Linked DNA regions of Homo sapiens: regions 1, 2 and 4 are each linked to region 3. Evidence: promoter capture Hi-C in human tissues and cell types (Jung and others, 2019). All regions are on one chromosome and are shown on one strand. The core of a region is centred on a gene start or on the middle of the fragment in contact, and the rest is flanking DNA. Distances in the headings are between cores, read along the strand shown.

The links. Contacts are between HindIII fragments. The study calls those that stand out against the background at their distance.
Region 1: a fragment that was not itself captured here is called in contact with the fragment with the promoter of CCDC62 in region 3 in 1 of the 25 tissues and cell types used here (spleen).
Region 2: a fragment that was not itself captured here is called in contact with the fragment with the promoter of CCDC62 in region 3 in 1 of the 25 tissues and cell types used here (psoas muscle).
Region 4: a contact is called between the fragment with the promoter of DIABLO here and the fragment with the promoter of CCDC62 in region 3, in 6 of the 25 tissues and cell types used here (aorta, dorsolateral prefrontal cortex, heart left ventricle and 3 more).

What each region holds. Positions count from the first base shown.
Region 1 is chr12:123,413,018-123,417,626 of GRCh38, forward strand. RILPL2 (Rab interacting lysosomal protein like 2) reads right to left here. Exons shown (of 4, transcript NM_145058.3): 4 at 2,022-2,904. The coding sequence ends at 2,874. Among named protein-coding and RNA genes, the nearest start is that of RILPL2, 21 kb to the right of the region's middle. The HindIII fragment of the contact is 7,685 bases long and covers 1-4,609 here.
Region 2 is chr12:123,337,024-123,342,276 of GRCh38, forward strand. It overlaps SBNO1 (strawberry notch homolog 1), which reads right to left. Exons shown (of 32, transcript NM_001167856.3): 5 at 3,965-4,065. Among named protein-coding and RNA genes, the nearest start is that of MIR8072, 25 kb to the right of the region's middle. RefSeq lists a silencer at 4,145-4,368. The HindIII fragment of the contact is 4,997 bases long and covers 1-3,883 here.
Region 3 is chr12:122,771,528-122,776,655 of GRCh38, forward strand. It overlaps CCDC62 (coiled-coil domain containing 62), which reads left to right and starts at 3,045. Exons shown (of 13, transcript NM_201435.5): 1 at 3,045-3,179. The coding sequence starts at 3,144. RefSeq lists silencers at 2,883-3,092, 3,615-3,909 and enhancers at 3,192-3,885, 3,273-3,412. The HindIII fragment of the contact is 10,219 bases long and covers 1-5,128 here.
Region 4 is chr12:122,222,985-122,227,928 of GRCh38, forward strand. DIABLO (diablo IAP-binding mitochondrial protein) reads right to left here and starts at 3,068. Exons shown (of 6, transcript NM_001371333.1): 1 at 2,981-3,068; 2 at 1,528-1,660. The coding sequence starts at 3,030. It overlaps LOC128125816, which reads right to left and starts at 3,580. Exons shown (of 1, transcript NM_001414998.1): 1 at 3,446-3,580. The coding sequence starts at 3,580. The coding sequence ends at 3,446. LOC101593348 (a long non-coding RNA gene) reads left to right here and starts at 3,458. Exons shown (of 1, transcript NR_103497.1): 1 at 3,458-4,944. RefSeq lists enhancers at 1,470-2,375, 2,785-2,834, 2,845-3,084, 3,138-3,432, 3,382-4,213 and 1 more and a silencer at 3,375-3,514. The HindIII fragment of the contact is 13,255 bases long and covers 1-4,944 here.

The sequences.
Region 1 (4,609 bases), core at 704-3,203, 640 kb after region 3:
GAAACCCCGTCTCTACAAAAATACAAAAATTAACCCAGTGTGGTGGCATATACCTATAGTCCCAGCTAGTCGGGAGGCTGAGGCAGGAGCATCGCTTGAATCTGGGAGGCAGAGATTGCAGTGAACCCAGATGGTGCCACTGCACTCCAGCCTGGGCGATAGAGCAAGACTCCGTCCCCACCACCCCCCAAAAAAAAGCCGGGTGCGGTGGCTCACGCCTGTAATCCCAGTGTGTCCGGAATTGGTGGGTTCTTGGTCTCACTGACTTCAAGAATGAAGCCGCGGACCCTCGCGGTGAGTGTTACAGTTCTTAAAGGTGGCGTGTCCAGAGTTTGTTCCTTCTGATGTTCAGATGTGTTCGGAGTTTCTTCCTTCTGGTGGGTTCGTGATCTCGCTGGCTCAGGAGTGAAGCTGCAGACCTTCGTGGTGAGTGTTACAGCTCTTAAGGCGGCGCGTCTGGAGTTGCTCGTTCCTCCTGGTGGGCTCCTGGTCTCCCTAGCTTCAGGAGTGAAGCTGCAGACCTTCGGGGTGAGTATTACAGCTCATAAAAGCAGTGTGGACCCAAAGAGTAAGCAGTAGTAAGATTTATTGCAAAGAACAAAAGAACAAAGCTTCCACAATGCGGAAAGGAACCCGAGCGGGTTGCCACTGCTGCCTGGGGCAGCCTGCTTTTATTCTCTTATCTGGCCCCACCCACATCCTGCTGATTGGTAGAGCCAAGTGGTCTGTTTTGACAGGGCGCTGATTGGTGCGTTTACAATCCCTGATCTAGACACAAAGGTTCTCCACGTCCCCACCAGATTAGCTAGATACAGAGTGTGGACACAAAGGTTCTCCAAGGCCCCACCAGAGTAGCTAGATACAGAATGTCGATTGGTGCATTCACAAACCCTGAGCTAGACACAGGGTGCTGATTGGTGTGTTCACAAACCTTGAGCTAGATACAGAGTGCCGATTGGTGTATTTACAATCCCTGAGCTAGACACAAAGGTTCTCCACGTCCCCAGCAGACTCAGGAGCCCAGCTGGCTTCACCCAGTGGATCCCGCACCGGGGCTGCAGATGGAGCTGCCTGCCAGTCCCGTGCCCTGTGCCTGCACTCCTCAACCCTTGGGTCGTTGATGGGACTGGACACCATGGAGCAGGGGGTGGGGCTCGTGGAGGAGGCTTGGGCCGCACAGGAGCCCACGGAGGGGGTGGGAGGCTCAGGCATGGCGGGCTGCAGGTCCCGAGCCCTGCCCCACGGGAAGGCAGCTAAGGCCCGGCGAGAAATCGAGCGCAGCGCCGGTGGGCTGGCACTGCTGGGGGACCCAGCACACCCTCAGCAGCCGCTGGCCCGGGTGCTAAGCCCCTCATTGCCCGGAGCCGGCAGGGCCCGCCAGCTGCTCCGAGTGCGGGGCCCACCAAGCCCACGCCCACCCGGAACTCCAGCTGGCCCGCAAGCGCCCCGCGCAGCCCCGGTTCCCGCTCGCGCCTCTCCCTCCACACCTCCCTGCAAGCTGAGGGAGCGGGCTCCGGCCTTGGCCAGCCCAGAAAGGGGCTCCCACAGTGCAGCGGTGGGCTGAAGGGCTCCTCAAGTGCCGCCAAAGTGGGAGCCCAGGCAGAGGAGGCGCCGAGAGCGAGCGAGGGCTGTGAGGACTGCCAGCACGCTGTCACCTCTCACCAGCACTTTGGGAGGCTGAGGCGGGTGGATCACGAGGTCAGGAGATCGAGACCATCCTGGCTAACACGGCGAAACCCTGTCTCTACTAAAAATACAAAAAAATTAGACGAGTGTGGTGGCAAGTGCCTGTAGTCCCAGCTACTCAGGAGGCTGAGGCAAGAGAATGGCGTGAACGTAGGCAGCAGAGCTTGTAGTGAGCCGAGATCGTGCCACTGCACTCCAGACTGTGCGACAGAGCGAGAGACTCCGTCTCAAAAAAAAAAAAAAAAAAAATCTATAAACTGGTGCACCGGTACCGGTCCCCATCTCCCCAGGTTATGAGGAACAAATGAGATAATCCACAGAGCAGGCGAAACACATTGAGTAAGCCACTGTTATTTACTAAGAAGACAGGCTCACGGAATGGTTGCGGCAGCCTCATTAGTTCCTTTGCGAAGTGCAGACACCCGCTCTCTGTTTCATTGATTCCTAAATGCATTTTGTTCACATCTTAACACCTCTGAAATCAGGATGAGTCCTAAAATCGATAGCTTCTTAACATTTTAGTTTGCAGCAATCTTTCCCTTCATAGTGACACCAGATAATCGTGCATCGCTTAGACTGAATGAATGCAATTGATTCATTATACAATGAAATGTAGATATATGACATATACACACATATACCATGTGTACCATCGTAACTAAGAGACCACTCTAGATAAGCTATAGAAAGTATAAAAATCATTTTACTTTAATACAAAATCACATAAAGAAAGGCATGTTGGCTAAATCAAATATTCACTAAATATCAGTGAAGTCACCACTGGAATCTCAATAGCACATTTTCCTGCTTTCTTTTCTCCCTTCTGCTAACCATTGAAGACCAGGGTCATCCGTGGGAGCAGATGAGTAGGACACGCGTCTGCACGCTGGAGGCCCTGGGGGTTGACATGGGAGCAGGAAGTGGACCCCCCCACCCTGCACATCCCTTCTGTTTTTCTTGATTTCAGTCTCACTGGCCCAGGCCAAATCTTCAAGGGTGTCTAGTTCTGCAGCCAGGGAGAAAGTGATGCCAAGAGAACCTCGTCTCCTCCCTCCTCAGTCTGCTTTGAAGGGGAAATAAATACACAGGCCTAGTGTGTCTGTGTGGCACAGGGAGGTGGTTTTGCCAGGCATCTTGGAAGGTTGTCTTCTAGAATCAGAGCCATAGCCTTACTTGTGGCCTTGGATCTAGGTCTGTTTCCCCGATCGAAAAAAGAACCTGGTGTGGAGAGAGAGAGGGTTCAGGGTAAGCAGAAGGAACAAAGCAAGGGGCACAGCAACCCCCGTAAAATTTCTAAGTAGCTCTTGCAGCTGTTGACTCAAAAATATGTCCAGGCCAGGCATTGTGGCTCACGCCTGTAATCCTATGATTTTGGGAAGCTGAGGCAAGAGGATGAGGATCACTTGATCCCAGGAGTCTCAGACATGCCTGGGCAGCATAGTGAGACCCCATCTCTAAAAAAAAAAAAAAATTAACCAGGCGTGGTGGCATACACCTGTAATCCCAGCTACTCAGGAAGCTGAGGCAGGAGAATCGCTTGAACCCGGGACGCAGAGGTTGCAGTGAGCCGAGATTGCGCCACTGCACTCCAGCCTGGGCGACAGAGCAAGACACTATCTCAAAAGAAAAAGAAAAAGCAAAAAAACCCCAAAAAACCCGGGTGCGGTGGCTCATGCCTGTAATCCCAGCACTTTGGGAGACGGAGGCAGGCAGATCATGAGGTCAGGAGATCGAGACCATCCTGGCTCACACGGTGAAACCCCGTCTCTACTAAAAATACAAAAAATTAGCCGGGTGTGGTGGCGGGCGCCTGTAGTCCCAGCTGCCTCGGGAGGCTGAGGCAGGAGAATGGCATAAACCCGGGAGGCGGAGCTTGCAGTGAGCCAAGATGGTGCCACTGCACTCCAGCCTGGGTGACAGATTGAGACTCCGTCTCAAAAACAAAAACAAAAAAACACATTCATTCGTTCATTCATTCACTCATTGATTCTAGTAGCTCATTAAGTTTATCTGACCCTGAAAGGGTGGCCTCACGCTCATTAGCCACTAGCCACATGTCCTCAGGCTAGCTCATGCACAGAACACACATTTCACTTTTGCTCTATTAGGCTCAAACTCCAATTAGGTGTCCTAAGCTCCCGTAGAAGGACGCTGAAAGAAACCAGTAGTTTATGCCTTCTGGAAGCCTGATTTGCAACAAGACAGCCAATGAAAGTCCTAAATGAACACCTTCACTTCGGACACCTGGGTGGAGGTGCTCTTTCATTATCTTACCTCAGAAGACCCTTCCTTGTGGAAGAAACACTTCCATTAGGCTGGGTGCAGTGGCTTACACCCGTAATCCTAGCACATTGGGAGGCTGAGGCGGGCGGATTGCTTGAGCTCAGGAGTTCCAGACCAGCCTGAGAAACGTGGAGAAACCCCATCTTTACCAAAAATACAAAAATTAGCTGGGCATGATGGTGAACACCTGTGGTCCCAGCTACTCGGGAGGCTGAGGTGGGAGGATCGCTTGAAACTGGGAGGCGGAGGTTGCAGTGAGCTGAGATCAAGCTACCGCACACCAGCCTGGGTGACAGAGTGAGACCCCATCTCAAAAAAAAAAAAAGGAAAAAAGAAACACCCCCATTGGCCTTACTTTGACCCTGTCTCCCAACCCTTCTCCACAAGGCAACCAGAGTGAGCTTTTTGTACATAAATACGGTCATGTTACTCTCCAGCTTAAAACCATCCAATGTCTCTTCCCAACGTACCTAGAATAAAACCCACAGTCAGCACCAGAAAGAATCCACGTGGCCCTGGGTGACCCAGCCCCTCCCACCTCTCCAATCCCACCTCCATTCTCTTCCCTGTTCCAGTCACCATGGTCTTCTGTTCTGAAAATTTCTTTTTTTTTTTGAGACAGAGTTTCACTGTGGTTGCC
Region 2 (5,253 bases), core at 135-2,634, 560 kb after region 3:
CCCCAGAAGACTGGAGTTTATTTTAGAGGCCCTTATGAAGAACAGAAAAATTTACTTCAGACTTCTGTGTCTCCACAGATGCAATCGTGATCATATATAAGATGGCCATATAATTTATTTTCCAAACCCTGGCACATTTGAGTTGGGGAGCTATTGAGGATTACACTGAGAAAACAGAAGTAAACCCAGACTGTCCTCGGCAAACCAAGTGAATGGTCACCACGGTTATGCTTCCCTTTTCTTCCTCTACAGGATCTTAAAGGAATAAAGGAAGATCCGGAATAAGCCACTTTTCACTACCAGTACAATCATTAGGCAACTGTTTATTAGCATGCACTTGTTCAGGGAAGAATATAAAGAAACTGTTGTGAAACTCAGTATGCCAAGGGAAGAGGACAACAAAAACCTACAGGTTAAGGCAAATTAAGGCAAGATCGAGACAGCATTAAAAGTGAAGGACAGGCTCTTTTTTCATTTACCTCAGAATCTAGAGCAGAATATGGTTGCAAATAGATAACAAACGTGAAAAGGAAAAGAAGTGGGACATAACCATCCAATCAACATTAACCTATGGAGTCTTTAGATAAAATCTAAAAACTTGGAATGTTCTCAGAAATTATGCTAAAATAAAACTCAATTTCGGAAATTCGAGACAAAACAGGACTGGCCAAATGAATAGATTTGAATCCCAATTCTGCTGTTATTTAATTGTGTAGTCTGTTTTTTAATTTAGGCAAATTACCTAAATTCTGGGTCCTCTCCACCCCCACCGTCTAACCCTGTCCTCGCTTATAAAATAAAAATGTATTCTATGTTAAGATAAGCAGCCTCCTTTCTCCCTCCATCCTTTATTCTCCTACCTATAGTTTTTTAAAATCATCATAAAATTGATGATAATTGAATAACTGAAGGATAAGTTGGTAATACTGAAGGACCACTATATCCAGGGAACAAACAAGTAATACCTTGAAGCCAGGTGCATGTGAGATAGCAACTGACATCAAATTTAGGTCAAAGAGATAACTCGGGTGAGGGAGACCACGGTACCTGGGAAATGTTTGCCCAACATACCATGTAGATGTTCACTACACAACGCTGGGCAAATCTTCCTAGATGGGGAACGTGGGCCTGGGGTTGTCAGGTACTCCCATTTTTCAAAATAACCGGGAAATCAGGATTTGTATATGTCAGCAAACAAATTCAAAATTCTTCAAAATACCATGAAGGCCAAACAAAATACATTTGTCAGCCAGGCATGGTGGCTCACGCCTGTAATCCCAGCACTTGGGCAAGCAGGGGTGGGCGGATCACCTGAGGTCAGGAGTTCAAGACCAGCCTGGCCAACATGGCAAAACCCCGTCTCTACTAAAAAATACAGGCCAGGCACAGTGGCTCACGCCTGAAATCCCAGCACTTTGGGAGGCCGAGGCGGGTGAATCACGAGGTCAGGAGTTCAAGACCAGCCTGGCCAAGGTAGTGAAACCCCATCTCTATTAAAAAATACAAAAGAAAATTAGCAGGGCGTAGTGGCGGGCGCCTGTAATCCCAGCTACTTGGGAGGCTGAGGAAGAGAATTGCTTGAGCCCGGGAAGGGGAGGTTGCAGTGAGCCAAGACTGCACCAATGCACTCCAGCCTGTGACAGAGCGAGACTCCATCTCAAAATAAATAAACAAAATAAAAGAAACAAAAATTATCTGGGTGTGGTGGTGGTGGTGGGGGGCGCCTGTAATCCCAGCTGCTCAGGAGGCTGAGGCAGAAGAATCACTTGAACCTGGGAGGCAGAAGTTGCAGTGAGCTGAGATTGCACCACTGCCCTCCAGCCTGGGTGACAGCAAGACACCGTCTAAACACACACACACACACACCCCGACACACACACACACACACGCCCCCCCCCCCCTCCCCGACTAGTTTGGTTGATGGGCTATCAGTTTGCAGTCTCTCTGAGATGTTACTTAACTGCTAAGCCAATAAAAAACTTTTGGTATATAATGGACTGAAATGGAAATGTGAGAACCACATAAAACATTTCTTGAAGAAATATGCATTCTTAGTTTCCAAAAATCACCTTCCAAGTGCTGTTGGTAGACAATCACTAAGTAAACTGGGTACCGCCAGTAGCACTATTGTTCTCCTGGTTCCCATTCAAAACCTCAGCTACAGTTTGCTGCACTGTCTCCAATTCCATATTCTAGAACCAAGTCCCAAAATTCTTTTGGTATCGTTATGTACAGTCATCTCTTTTTTTCCTTTCCCCTCTCCGTTTTTCAATCCCCTCTGCAAGGTCTCTAGTACCCCTTCTTACTTCCCCCTTAGGTTAACCAACTTTCCAACCTCTCTCTTTTGCCTACTCCTACTCATCCCGAATCTGTCTTCCCTACCCCTTTACTCAGTCTGCACCCCAACTTCTCCTGAATCACTAACAGGTCCCTCCATGTCTACTGGCTCAATGGTGCTAGACTAAGTCCAAAGTCCTTCAAACTCAATTCAGCACAGGGCACCTTGGCCTCCCAGCACTTTGGGAGGCCGAGCTGGAGGGATCACTTGAGGTCAGGTATTCGAGACCAGCCTGGCCAATGTGGTAAAACCCCGTCTCTACTAAAAACACAAAAATTAGCCAGGGCTGGTGGTGGGCACCTGTAATCCCACCTACTCAGGAAGCTGAGGCAGAAGAATCGCTCGAACCTGGGAGGCGGAGATTGCAGTGAGCCAAGATTGCACCACTACACTCCAGCCTGGTCAACAGAGCAAGACTCCATCTCAAAAACAACAACAACAATAAAAACCTCAATTCAGGACCCTCCATGGAGCCCAGACCTACTATTCCCACTTCTTTCTACAAGCTAAGCTTCCTGGCTTATTTTCACCGAAGCACATACTCACTACCTCCCCTCTGTGCCCATTAATCCTTTAGCTCCCTTCCTAATATCCCACCTCAAAGTCTCGTCATACTCAAAACCCAAGCTCCATTATTCCCTCTCCATAAAGTCCACCAGGCCACTAGAGTTCAGGAAGGTCACCTCTTCCTCCAAATTCCTAACCTTTATTGTGAGTAGCACATTGCATACCATTTGATGTACTTTTCATTATTACTACTTAATCCAGATGGTTGTCAAATTTTGCTTACTGAAGGTAGAATCATGTAATAAATATACTTCTTGTAGAAACCTACTACATATTAACAATGTTATACATGGAGAATTTATTAAATAAATGTATGGAATCAATTGATCCAAAGCATACAGCATTTTCAAAATGTTAAGAATTCTAACCAGGCCGGGTGCAGTGGCTCACGCCTGTAATCTCAGCACTTTCGGAGGCTGAGGCGGGCAGATTACCTGAGGTCAGGAGTTCGAGACCATCCTGGCCAACATGGTGAAACCCCATTTCTACTAAAAATACAAAAATTAGCCAAGCATGGTGGCACATGCCTGTAATCCCAGCTACTTGAGAGGCTGAGGTGGGAGAATCACTTGAACCTGGGAGGTGGAGGTTACAGTGAGCCAAGATAGCACCACTGCACTCCAGCCTGGGCGATAAGAGTAAGACTCTGTCTCAAAAAAAAAAAAAAAAAAAAAAAAGAATCACTCATAACCAGATCATTATATGATCTGTCAATGCATTATGAGCTTTCTATTCAAGTTCGGTCCTAAAATGAACACAGTTATCAAATACTTTTCGTTAACCCCACATTGTCTTTTTTTCTGCTCAGATGAGATTTTTAACAGTAAGATATCAGTACTGCATGTTAGTGCCACACTCCATCAATCTGCAAGTTTTAACCACCCTGGTTAGTATCTATATTACTCCAGCGAGGTTTAAGCATATCCATTAGTTCCCACGCCTGTATAGCTTCTTCCCAACCCAAAAACAGCTTTCTGAGGGTTGTTCCATATAGAACACTTTTAGTTGAGTACACTCTCATACTACACAAAAATAAAGACACAGTTATTTGAAACTCACCATGGTTGGGGAAAAACTCCTCATCTTCATGTCGTTTATCCACATTCTAGCTCCTTCTTTATTAGAAGACTCTTTCTTTACTGTACCATTGCTTACATCAGCTGAGGAGGAAAAAGTCAAATTACATTTAGAAGAAAATTCTGAACTTATTTTCCCATTATTTAAAAATCCAGAAGTTTAAGGCTGCTGCGGTGGCTCACACCTGTAATCCCAGCATTTTTGGGACACCAAGGCGGGTGAATTACAAGGTCAGGAGTTCAAGACCAGCCTGGCCAAGATTGTGAAACCGCATCTCTACTAAAAATACAGAAACAAGCTGGGCGTGGTGGCGGGCACCTGTAATCCCAGCTACTCGGGAGACTGAGGCAGAGAATTGCTTGAACCTGGGAGGTGGAGGTTGAAATGAGCCGAGATTGCACCACTGCACTTCAGCCTGGGTGACAGAACAAGACTTTGTCTAAAAAAATAAAAATAAAAAACCCAGAAGTTTACATATTTCAAAAACCAAAGAATGTCAATCTGCCTATAACTAATTTATTTTTATTTATTTATTTTTGGAGTTTCACTCTTGTTGCCCAGGATGGAGTGCGTTGGCGCAATCTCAGCTGACTGCAACCTCCTCCTCCCGAGTTCAAGCGATTCTCCTGCCTCAGACCCCCAAGTAGCTGGGATTACAGGAATGCGCCACCATGCCTGCCTAATTTTGTAATTTTTTTTTTAAGTAAAAACGGAGTTTCTCCATGTTGGTCAGGCTGGTCTTGAACTCCCAACCTCAGGTGATCTGCCCACTTTGGCATCCCAAAGTGCTGGGATTACAGGCGTGAGCCACCGCACCTGGCCTCTATTACTAATTTAAATTAAGCACAGGCATGAAAACATGTAAACCCATGTGTCTTTATGGAAGTAAAGAATTAACTTTAGAAAACAACTCAAAAGGAACGTGTGCAAGGGAAGCTTGAAAATTATTTATCAGAAAGATACCCAAAAGCCAGCATTACTTTGAGACACTTCATTTGACTCATTAAAAATAAACAAGGCCGGCGCAGTGGCTCACGCCTGTAATCCCAGCACTTTGGGAGGCCGAGGAGGCCCAGTCTCTACTAAAAATACAAAATTAGCCGGGCATGGTGGCGCATGCTCATAATCCCAGCTACTTGGGAGGCTGAGGCAGAGAACTGCTTGAACCCGGGAGGCGGAGGCTGCAGTGAGCTGAGATTGCATCATTGAACTCCAGCCTGGGCAACAAGAGTAAAACTCTGTCTCAAAAAAATTAATTAATTAATTAATTA
Region 3 (5,128 bases), core at 1,795-4,294:
CTGGCAACTTTTAATGCAAATACTTTTTGCATATAGTTTGGTAAGTATTTCATTTTTTAAAAACAGATGCTGACAGTAAGTGATTTTAAACTTTTTATTACTACATAAAAGCCAGTCTGTGGTAGCTTTCTCACTCTTAGTTTAAAAGTTGATAAATTACTGTTTTAAAGATGAATTTTACCTTTTAGTTCCCTGTTCTCATTATTTACTAAATTCCTTTACCTAGGAAATCAAATAGGGAGACTGGGAAAAGTTCATTCAGAACTTCAGTTTGGATTAGACTGTGTGAGTATAAAATCAGATGCAGTGTAATTCTTGTAGCTTTCACCTCTGTCATATTTTTAAAGTTATGTATTCTCTTTAATTTTTTTTGTTGTTGTTGTTTTAATGAAAACCTGTGGGGAGCGAAGGTAAAAACTTGAGATTTTTAATTTGTACCTTGCCATCATAATCCTCTTACTATACTCAGTTACTATTTATGAACCATAATCAAAATGAGCCTAATTTCTTACTATTCTAGATACACACAATTTTATTCATTTTTGAGACAGAGTCTCGCTCTGTTGCCCAGGCTGGAACGCAGTGGCATGATCACAGCTCACTGCAGCCTTGATCTCCCAGCCTCAAGTGATCCTCCCACTTCAGCTTCTGGAGTGGCTGAGACCACAGGCACATGCCACCATACCCAGCTAATTTTTAAATTTTTTATAGAGATGGGGGGTCTCCCTATGTTGTCCAGGCTGGTCTCAAACTCCTGAGCTCAAGCTATCCTCCCACCTCAGCCTCCCAAAGTGCTGGGATTACAGGTGTGAACCACCACACCCAGCCTGTACATGTATTTTTACTTGAGTGTCACACATGGTTGCCTGGTGAACAATGGCACTCGAGGACTTTCTAGAAAAATATCAAGTCTTAACAATGGTGAAACCTAAGAAACGTGAATTAAAACACTCCTCACTTCAAAAATTGACATTCAACCCACATTCCTTTACATCTCATCACCACCAACTTACTGCAGTCATCTACTGCTAGACTGTTTTTAGCAAATACCCACCCAGAATTTGCTTTGTTGATTTATTTATTTATTTTTATTTTTTTGCATTTCTGTAATGATCAGGGAAGTAGACCACCTTTTTGTATTTATTGGCTATTTGGTTTTGGGTTTTGGTGGTAGTGGTGGTTGGTGTTTTTTTGTTTTTTTTTTTTTTTGATACGGAGTGTCCCTCTATTGCCTAGGCTGGAGTGAGGTGGCGCAGTCTTGGCTCACTGTAACCTCCATCTCCTGCATTCAAGCGATTCTCCTGCCTCAGCCTTCCGAGTAGCTGGGACTATGGGTGCGCACCACCACACGTGGCTAGTTTTTGTTTGTTTGTTTGTTTGTTTGATTTTTAGTAGAGACAGGGTTTCGTTGTATTGGCTAGGCTGGTCTCAAACTTCTAATCTCATGATCCATCCTCCTCGGCCTCTCAAAGTGCTGGGATTACAGGCGTGAGCCACCACGTCTGGCCTGATTTTTGTTTTTTTGAGTCAAGGTCTCACTCTCGATCGGACTGGAATGCAGTGGCATGATCACAGCTCATTGGAGCCGCCATCTCCCAGCTCAAGTCAGCCTCGTGAGTAGCTGAGACCACAGGAGTGCACCACCACGCCCAGTTTAAAAAAAAATTTATTTTTTGGCCAGGTGCGGTAGCTCACACCTGTAATCCCAGCACTTTGGGAGGCTGAAGTGGGTGGGTCAACTGAGGTCAGGAGTTCGCGACCAGCCTGGCCAAGGTAGTGAAACCCATCTCTACTAAAAATACAACAAAGGTGGCGTGGTGGCGGGCACCTGTAATCCCAGCTACTCGGGAGGCTGAGGCAGGAGATTTGCTTGAGGCCAGAGGCAGAGTTTGCAGTGAGCCGAGATTGTGCCATTGCACTCCAGCTCAGGCAACAAGAGCCAGACTCCATCTCAAAAAAAAAAAAAAAAAAAGTTTTTTAGAGGTGGGTGTCACCATGTTGCTCAGGCTGGTCTCAAACTCCTGAACGCAACAGATCCTCCTACATTGGCCTCCCAAAGTGCTGGGGTTACAGGCCACTGCGCCCAGCTTTCTTGATTTTAAATTCTAAGACATTGCTTTGGTCTCCCAAACATGAGCCTATCAGTAAAGCTTCAAAATAAGAAATCTTAATTTTGTTTTTCCATTTTCAGATTGTATTTTTTGAACACAAGGGCATGTTTTGGCATTTCATATTCAACCAAAAAGTAAAGTTGAAACCCTGTAAGACCGACCGTATTTAGTAATTGTGTTGCTGTCTGATGGGTTAAGCATTCAGGGATGGGCAGCCGGGGCTGAAGTGTGATAAGCCTTATTTTTTCCTAGTCCCGTTCCCACATCTTAGGAAGAGTGAAAGGGGGATGAAGAGGTGACTATGGAAGAACAGGTGAAAAAGCTTAGATTCAACCCAGAATATCGTAGATTTTGTCATGACAAAGTACCGTGGTTCTCCTCATTGCTTTTCAGGAGCTCCCAAGAGTAAATTTCCCCCTCTTCATCTGTGATTCTTGGTTTAAAGTATCAAAGGTGCTAGGGTAGCCCGCAACTGTTATCCCCGAGGGCTGGGCTCTGCCTCCACGCATTCGAGTGTCAGGTCCTGTTCTGGGAGCCAGCTACACAGGAGCGAGCACGGCCGAGCTCACGGTTATTAGGGGGAAGATGGAAGATAGGGAAGTGAGCAACTCAAATGTCATAAACCAGAGTGCTGGGGGCGGCGCAGCAGCCTTTATTGACTTCTTCATTCTCTGGGTAGTGGTGAACAGCCGGTTCTTTCAGGCCTTCCAGCGCCGGAGCCTCGGGCGTGGGCAAAAAGCGTCCATACGCAGCCTGAGCCACTTGGGAGCCCCCAGTTTCCGAGGCAGAAGAACAGTGCCCACCAGCGCAGCGGGGCTGCGGCCCGGAAACCCTGGCGGGGAGCCCCGAGCCCCGGCGGGCGCACGCCGCGTGGGCACCAGGCAGGCGGTTGGAGTACGGGGCGGGGGTCGGCCGAGGGCGCGGGGCCCCGGGGCTCCGGGCTCGCCCCCGCCGCTCGGGGCAGGCGCGCCGATGGCGTTTCTGAGGTGACGCCGCCCACACCGGGCTTCTCCGGGGGCGGAGGAAACACCTATGAACCCTCCGGCAGCCTTCCTTGCCGGGCGCCAGGTAAGCAGCGGTTCCGGGCGCGGCGGGGCGCCGCGGGAACGGTGCACATTGGTCGAAATCTATTGCTTCTCAAGAACGGTGTCTACTTAAAATGTGAAACAGGCCGGGCGCGGTGGCTCACGCCTGTAATCCCAGCGCTTTGGGAGGCGGAGGCGGGCGGATCACGAGGTCAGGAGATCGAGACCATCCTGGCTAACACAGTGAAACCCCGTCTCTACTAAAAATAAAAAAAAAAAAATTAGCCGGGCGTGGCGGCGGGCGCCTGTAATCCCAGCTACTCGGGAGGCTGAGGCAGGAGAATGGCGTGAACCCGGGAGGCAGAGCTTGCAGTGAGCCGAGATCGCGCCACTGCACTCCAGCCTGGGCGACAGAGCGAGACTCCGTCTCAAAAAAAAAAAAAAAAAAAAAAAGTGAAACAATACACTAGAGGAAAACGGCGTCACGACCGTTTCCTTAACCCAATAACACCTTGTTATTCAGCCCGGGCCACAGAGTAGCGCGTACCCGGTGCTTACTGTTTAAGGAGGACGATTGGCGTCTGGGGAGCTGCTTTCCCATTTACCTCTCAGGGTGTCCTTAATTTACACAACCTGGCGAGTAGAGGAAGGAGCTCTCACAACTCCACTGTACCAAAAAGTCTGGAAGTGGGCTTGCCCAAGGTTCGCGTCCATCAGTGTAAGACGACCTGCCTTTGTGTACTCGGCTTACTGCCTGTTTTCCTGGAGTGGAATATGTGCTCCTTGCCTGGAGGTCTGTGGCCCAGCCACTGGCGCTCAATAAATTATTTGTTGAGTGCATGAATGAAGGGCTAACCCAACACTGGAATTCAAGCCTTGGGACTTGAAATCCCTTGACTCCAAATTCCATTTTCCTTGTTAAGACTAGCAACTGTAATTTATTCATCATTCTTATTTATTTATTTTTGAGACAGGGTCTGGCTCTGTCCCCAGGGCTGGAGTACAGTGACGCAATGTCGGCTTACTGCAGCCTCTGCTTCCCGAGTTCAAGCAATCCTCCCGCCTCAGCCTCCCAAATAGCTGGGACTACAGGCTCCCACCACCATGCCGAGCTAATTTTTGTGTTTTTAGTAGAGACAGGGTTTCGCCATGTTGGCCAGGCTGGTCTCGAACTCCCGACCTCAGGTGATCTGCCCACCTCGGCCTTCCAAAGTGCTGGGATTACAGGCGTGAGCCACTGAGCCCAACCTCATTATTCTTGTTTATTTACAAATCTTACTTTTCAAAAAGCAGTAAGGAGGTACAAAGGGCCTCTGTTGAACCTTTAATTACTGTCTTTAAGGTGGAACTCTATTAAAGTAACACTTTTAGTTGTTTATTTCATAGGCAGGGACAGCACCATGATTTGAAATGTGGTTTACAGTGTTAATGAGAGCTGATGTTTGTTGAGTGATTACAACGGGCCAGGCTTTGTGCTCAGTACTTTACAGAGTTTGTCTTGTTTAATCTTCACCACTCCAAGATGTTAAAATGCAGTTGCTATCGTTTTACAGGTGAGGAAACTAATGCTTAGAGAAGTTAAGTAACTTGCCCAAGGTTATGTAGCCACTAAGTGGCTAATTCTGGGATCACAATTTGGTCAGGCCAACTTGTTAGATTTTAAAATGCTGTATACTTCAAAGAAATTATTGTATTAATAGATAATATTGTTAGATATAAAAATGGCATCATGGTTATATAGGAAATGTTCATTTTTAGAGATGCATTCTGAAGTATGTAAGGGTGAAATGGTATTTTTTAACCAATAATGAAAAGAAAAGGACATTGAAGCAGCCGCAGTGAAATCTCAATAATGGTAGAACCCAGGCACAGAGTATATGGGAGTTTATCGTACTATTGTCTTTGGGTACATGTGAAAGATTTCCTTACATAATTTATTTTTTAATGATGTATGTTGTATTTGGATCAGTTACAATATTAAATTGCCCTTAA
Region 4 (4,944 bases), core at 1,818-4,317, 550 kb before region 3:
AACTACGTTGAGCTAAATTCTCCCCACCTCTTCTGCTTGCCTGGTCCAAGCCAGTATCATTTCATGCCTAGATATAGCAACTAGTCTTCCTAGTTCCACACAGCAACCTTTTAACTTTTAAAATTTATGTCAGATCATAATAGTTCTGTGTTAAAAATCCTCTGTGACAGCCGGGCACGGTGGCTCAGGCCTGTAATCCCAGCACCTTGGGATGCCGAGGCGTGTGGATCGCCTGAGGTCAGGGGTTCGTGACCAGCCTCACAAGCATGGAGAAACCCCATCTCTACTAAAAATACAAAAACTAGCTGGGTGCGGTGGCACACCCCTGTAATCCCAGCTACCCGGAGGCTAAGGCATGAGAATTGCTTGAACCTGGGAGGCGGAGGTTGCAGTGAGCCAAGATTGTGCCATTGCACTGCAGCCTGGCAACAGAGTGAGACTCTGTCTTTAAAAAAAAAAAAAAAAAATATCTTCTGCGGCTTCTTTTTCAGAAAACCCAAAGCCTTACAACAATGGCCCACAAAATACAAAGGACACAATCTGATTATCAGTTAACTCTCTGGCTTCATCTATTACGGTCTCCCCCATTCGCCTCCAGACACATTAGCTCCATGCTCCTCAGACATACCAGGCATACTTCTGCTTCTAGGTCTTTGTCCTTCTGAGTTCCTTCTGCCTGGCAAGCTCCTCCCCGCACCAGATAGTATAATGGCTCTTTCAGAACATTCAGATCTCTACTTCGCCTTATCAGAGTAGCTTGACCACCTTTATCTAAAACAAAACTCCCTCCCAGAATTGCCTATTCACTTACCTCATTTGTTTTGTTTTGTTTTTGAGAAAAGGTCTTGCCCTGTCACCCAGGCTGGAGAGCAGTGGTGAGATCATAGCTCACTGCAGCCTCAAACTCCTGGGCTCAAGTGATCTTCCTGCCTCAGCCTCCTGAGTAGTTGCCACTAGAAGTGTGAGCCACCACACCCGGCTAAATTTTTCTGTTTTGTAGAGACAGAGTCTCCCTATGTTGACTAGGCTGGTCTCAAACTCCTGAGCTCAAGCCATCCTCCCACCTCAGCCTCCCAAAGCCCTGGGCATCAGCCACTGTGCCCGGCCCTGTTTTCTTCCCACCATTTATCACCAGCTGATATTTTATATTTTATCCTCTTTCATCTCCACAAAGCTTTTGTGAGAACAAGAATTTTTTGTTGTTCATTCTTACATTCTCAGTGTCTTGCACATAAAAGTTGCTCAATAAATTTCTGTTGAATCAAAGACTACTTTGTTGATAGACTGTAATATCCTCTTATTTCTCTCTACTCGCTTTATACAATTTGATGTGCTGTTCCTACCAAATGAGATAATCAAAATGAGAATATTAATATATCTGCTCAACTGTGAAAAGATGCCGGTACTGTGGGGGAAGGGATGGGAGCACTGGGAAAAACTATGGTAGCTTGTCTAATGCTTCACCGCCCACTTGAGACTTCAAGAGGACACGGTACACTAGATAAGAATCACTGCACACGACAGTACCTGTGCAATAGGAACCGCACACAGGGTTACTCCAAAGCCAATCGTCACAGTTTTGTGCCATGGTCTTATCAATTCTGAGAAACACCGCTTCTTAAAGTTAGCCACAACAGGAACACACAAACACTGTCTGTACCTGGAAGTAGAAGTCAGATTTCATAAGGCACGACCGCCAATCTGTAACAGGCTCTTGGATTTACTTGCAGGGGCTGTAAACTCAAACTCGAGCCAAGCAGGAACCTAAATGAGGATGCAGGACAGCTGAGGGGTTTTGAAATTTTCAACATACACCAAGTTTAAAATGTTGCCTCAGGCAGGGTGTTGGTGGCTCACGCCTGTAATCCTAGCACTTGGAAGGCCAAGGGCAAGGCGGGAGGATCACTTGAGCCCAGGAGTTCACGACCAGCCTGGGCAACATGGCTGGCAACATGACCCCGTGTCTATTAAAAAAAAATAAGTAAATAAAGGCCGAGGCGGGTGGATCACTTGAGGTCAGGAATTCGAAATCTGCCTGACCAACATGGTGAAACCCCATCTCTACTTAAAACACAAAAATTAGCCCGGAGTGGTGGCACGCTCCTGTAATCCCAGCTACTCGGGAGGCTGAGGCAGGAGAATCGCTTGAACCTGGGAGGCAGAGGTTGCAGTGAGCCGAGAGCGCCCCACTGCACTTCAGCCTGGGCAACAGAGCGAGACTGAGTCTCAAACAAAACAAAAAGAAAAAAAAAAATTAGCCGGGCGTGGTGGCGGGCGCCTGCAATCCCAGCTACTCGGGAGGCTGAGGCTGAGAATCGCTTGAAGCCGGGAGGCACAGGTTGCAGTGAGCTGAGATCTCGCCACTGCACTCCAGCCTGGGCGACAGAGGCAGATCTTGTCTCAAAAAAATTAAAATAAAATAAAATGTTGCCTTTAAACTTTTTAGAAACGGATGCCACAATAACCGCTCCTGCAGGCAGAATTTAGCTCTGGACCCCTGGCCTGGGTGCCAGTTGTGTGTGACGGTCCCGCTACAATCGCCCAGGAGCCTGCAGCGCTAGGTAGAGAGCCCTGCGCCAGCTCCCCCGGCCCCTTCTGCCCTCGGGAGGACGTCTTCAGACGCTCGTCTCCCTTCCCGGACTCCCCCCATGCCGTGTCCCTCCTCCTCTCCACGTCTCCTCAGGGACTTCGAGTGGCTGACGAGGGCTGGTCAGGAGGCGGAGCAGCCCCAAGAAGGCAGCCCGGGGTCTCGGGGACTCGTTTCTAGAAGATGGACGAACTGAAAAGGAAGCCGGGCTTGACCCAGGGGGCGGAGGCGGGGCTGTCCTCAGTCCTCCCGACCGGAGCGAGACGCCGCGACCCAGCTGGGCGGACGAGAGATGAGCGCGTAAGGAAGGCGGGCGCCGTGGGCCGGGCCACAGCGCTGTCCGCGTCGGTCCCTCCCTCTGGTCCTGTCCCCTCTACGCGGCCGCAGCGGTACCTGAAGAATGAAGTTACGCTGCGCGACAGCCAACTCTTCAGAGCCGCCATTGTGCAGCGCGCGGACGCCAGACGCACACGCCGGAAGTGACGCAGCTTCGTGAGCGCGGAGCGGGGCACGGCCTCCACCTGAGAGCGCCTCGCCCCATAGCCACGCCCCCACCCAAGGAAGCAGTCGGGATTGGGCAGGCAGGGGGAAAGGGGGCGAGGCTTAGGGCAAAGGCTGTAACGGCCGCGCAAGGCAACCAACCGCCGGAACTTCCGCGCGGGGCGGGGCATATGCAGGGCCTGAGGGCGCGGAGGTGGGTCCGGCGCGGAGCTGAGTCGGGCGCCGTGACGCTGGCGGGTGGGCGGGGACTCAGTTCGGGCCAGGGCTTGAAGGGAATTTCCTGGTGAGTTAGGGAGGCGGGGCCGGGCGGGAGGCGGGGCCGGGCGGGAGGCGGGGCCGGGCGCGGCGACGGCGCTGTCACTTCAGCACCAGGAAGTAAGTGGTCCAGCCGGCCAGCAGCAGCGCCCCGATGAGCACCGTGTAGCTGAGGAGCACGAAGGCGAGCAGCTCCCGCAGCAGCTGCAGCACGTGGACGGTGGACGAGGCCGGCATCGCGCTGCGCGGGAGCCCCAGGACGGTCGGCGGCCTGCCGGGCTGGCGCCGTCCCAGAGGGGCGGACGGGAACACACGAGGTCCTGGCCCTCGAAACAGCAAACGAAGGCCAGGAAGCCCACAGTGCCGACCTCCCCAACAGCCTCCTGGACGCTCGCTTCTCGGTTACACTGGAGAATCCTTCTCAACCCAAACTGCCCTCGTTCTTCGGCTCTGATCCGGGCTGAGGAGGCAGAAGCCCGGCTCTTCCCCGCGCCCCGCAGCTGCATGAGTTTTCCTCCCTGGCCCGCTCCTCCCACCACCTCCTGCATTTTTAATGCTGTGAGTGCCGCTAATGCGCTGGTGGAGTAAACCTTTCTTTTCCCGTCACTCAAGCTGCAGCCCCAGCTGCGGCCCTGGCTGGAAGGGGAAGGGGAGAGAGACCCATTTGGGCAGGAGGAAGGCACAGGCCCAAACCTGCTCTTCTGTGAGTCCCCTGGCCCCAAGGCTTGCCAGCAGCAGAGCTGGAGGATCTTTGCTTTGTGGTCCAGCATGCTTGCCTTCTGGCCAGCTGGGACTGCAGGGTGCCAGGTGGTGGGTGGGCATCAATCCGATCCTGGGCTCACCCCCGCCACCGTGCTCTGTGCATCTGCCCCAGCCCTGCTAACTTCCACCAGAGACGACATCAGACAGTAAGAACCCCACACCAGCTCATCAGACAGTAGGAACCCTACAACACCTCCAATGCTGCTTTGCCCAGCCACTCCCCACAGTGTCAGGCACTGGCTTCCTTCTCTCCCCACCTCACTTACTTGGCAAAGTTTCCACGAATCTTCCACCCTGAAGCTCCGCGGTTCTGTCTGCTCTGGTGCCCAAAGGTAGCTTGTGTGTATTCTGCGATCTCGGCAGAACTGAGATTTTCAAGCAGCGGCACTCAACAACTAGGTGTGGTCTAGAGACCAATTACAACCTCCGCGTGGTCCCCGAGCTCTCAGGGAGCTGCGCACAGGCGTTCCTAGCCCAGGCGGGGCGCTGGCAACCCTGCCCGCCCTCTGCCTGTGTCGCCACCACAGCCCACAGGGCTCAGATGTGGTTTCACAGACCCAGATGGGCTGAGCAGGCGGCACACTAGTGGGTATTTCAAGCCCCTTCTTGTTTTTTTCTGAACATTGTAAGGGGTTATGGGGTTATAGTGCGAACAGTTTCGTTTCTAACAAACACATTGAGAGCAGTCCCATCTCCTCCGAGTCTGGGCACCAGAAGAACCACTGGACAGTGTTCACTTGCGACCGCCCAACTACTAAAGCAAAAGCTGTTGTCTTAAAAAACATGCAAGTGCAAGCATGCACGGGTGTGAGAACCAAGCTTAAGTGACCGAGATCTCC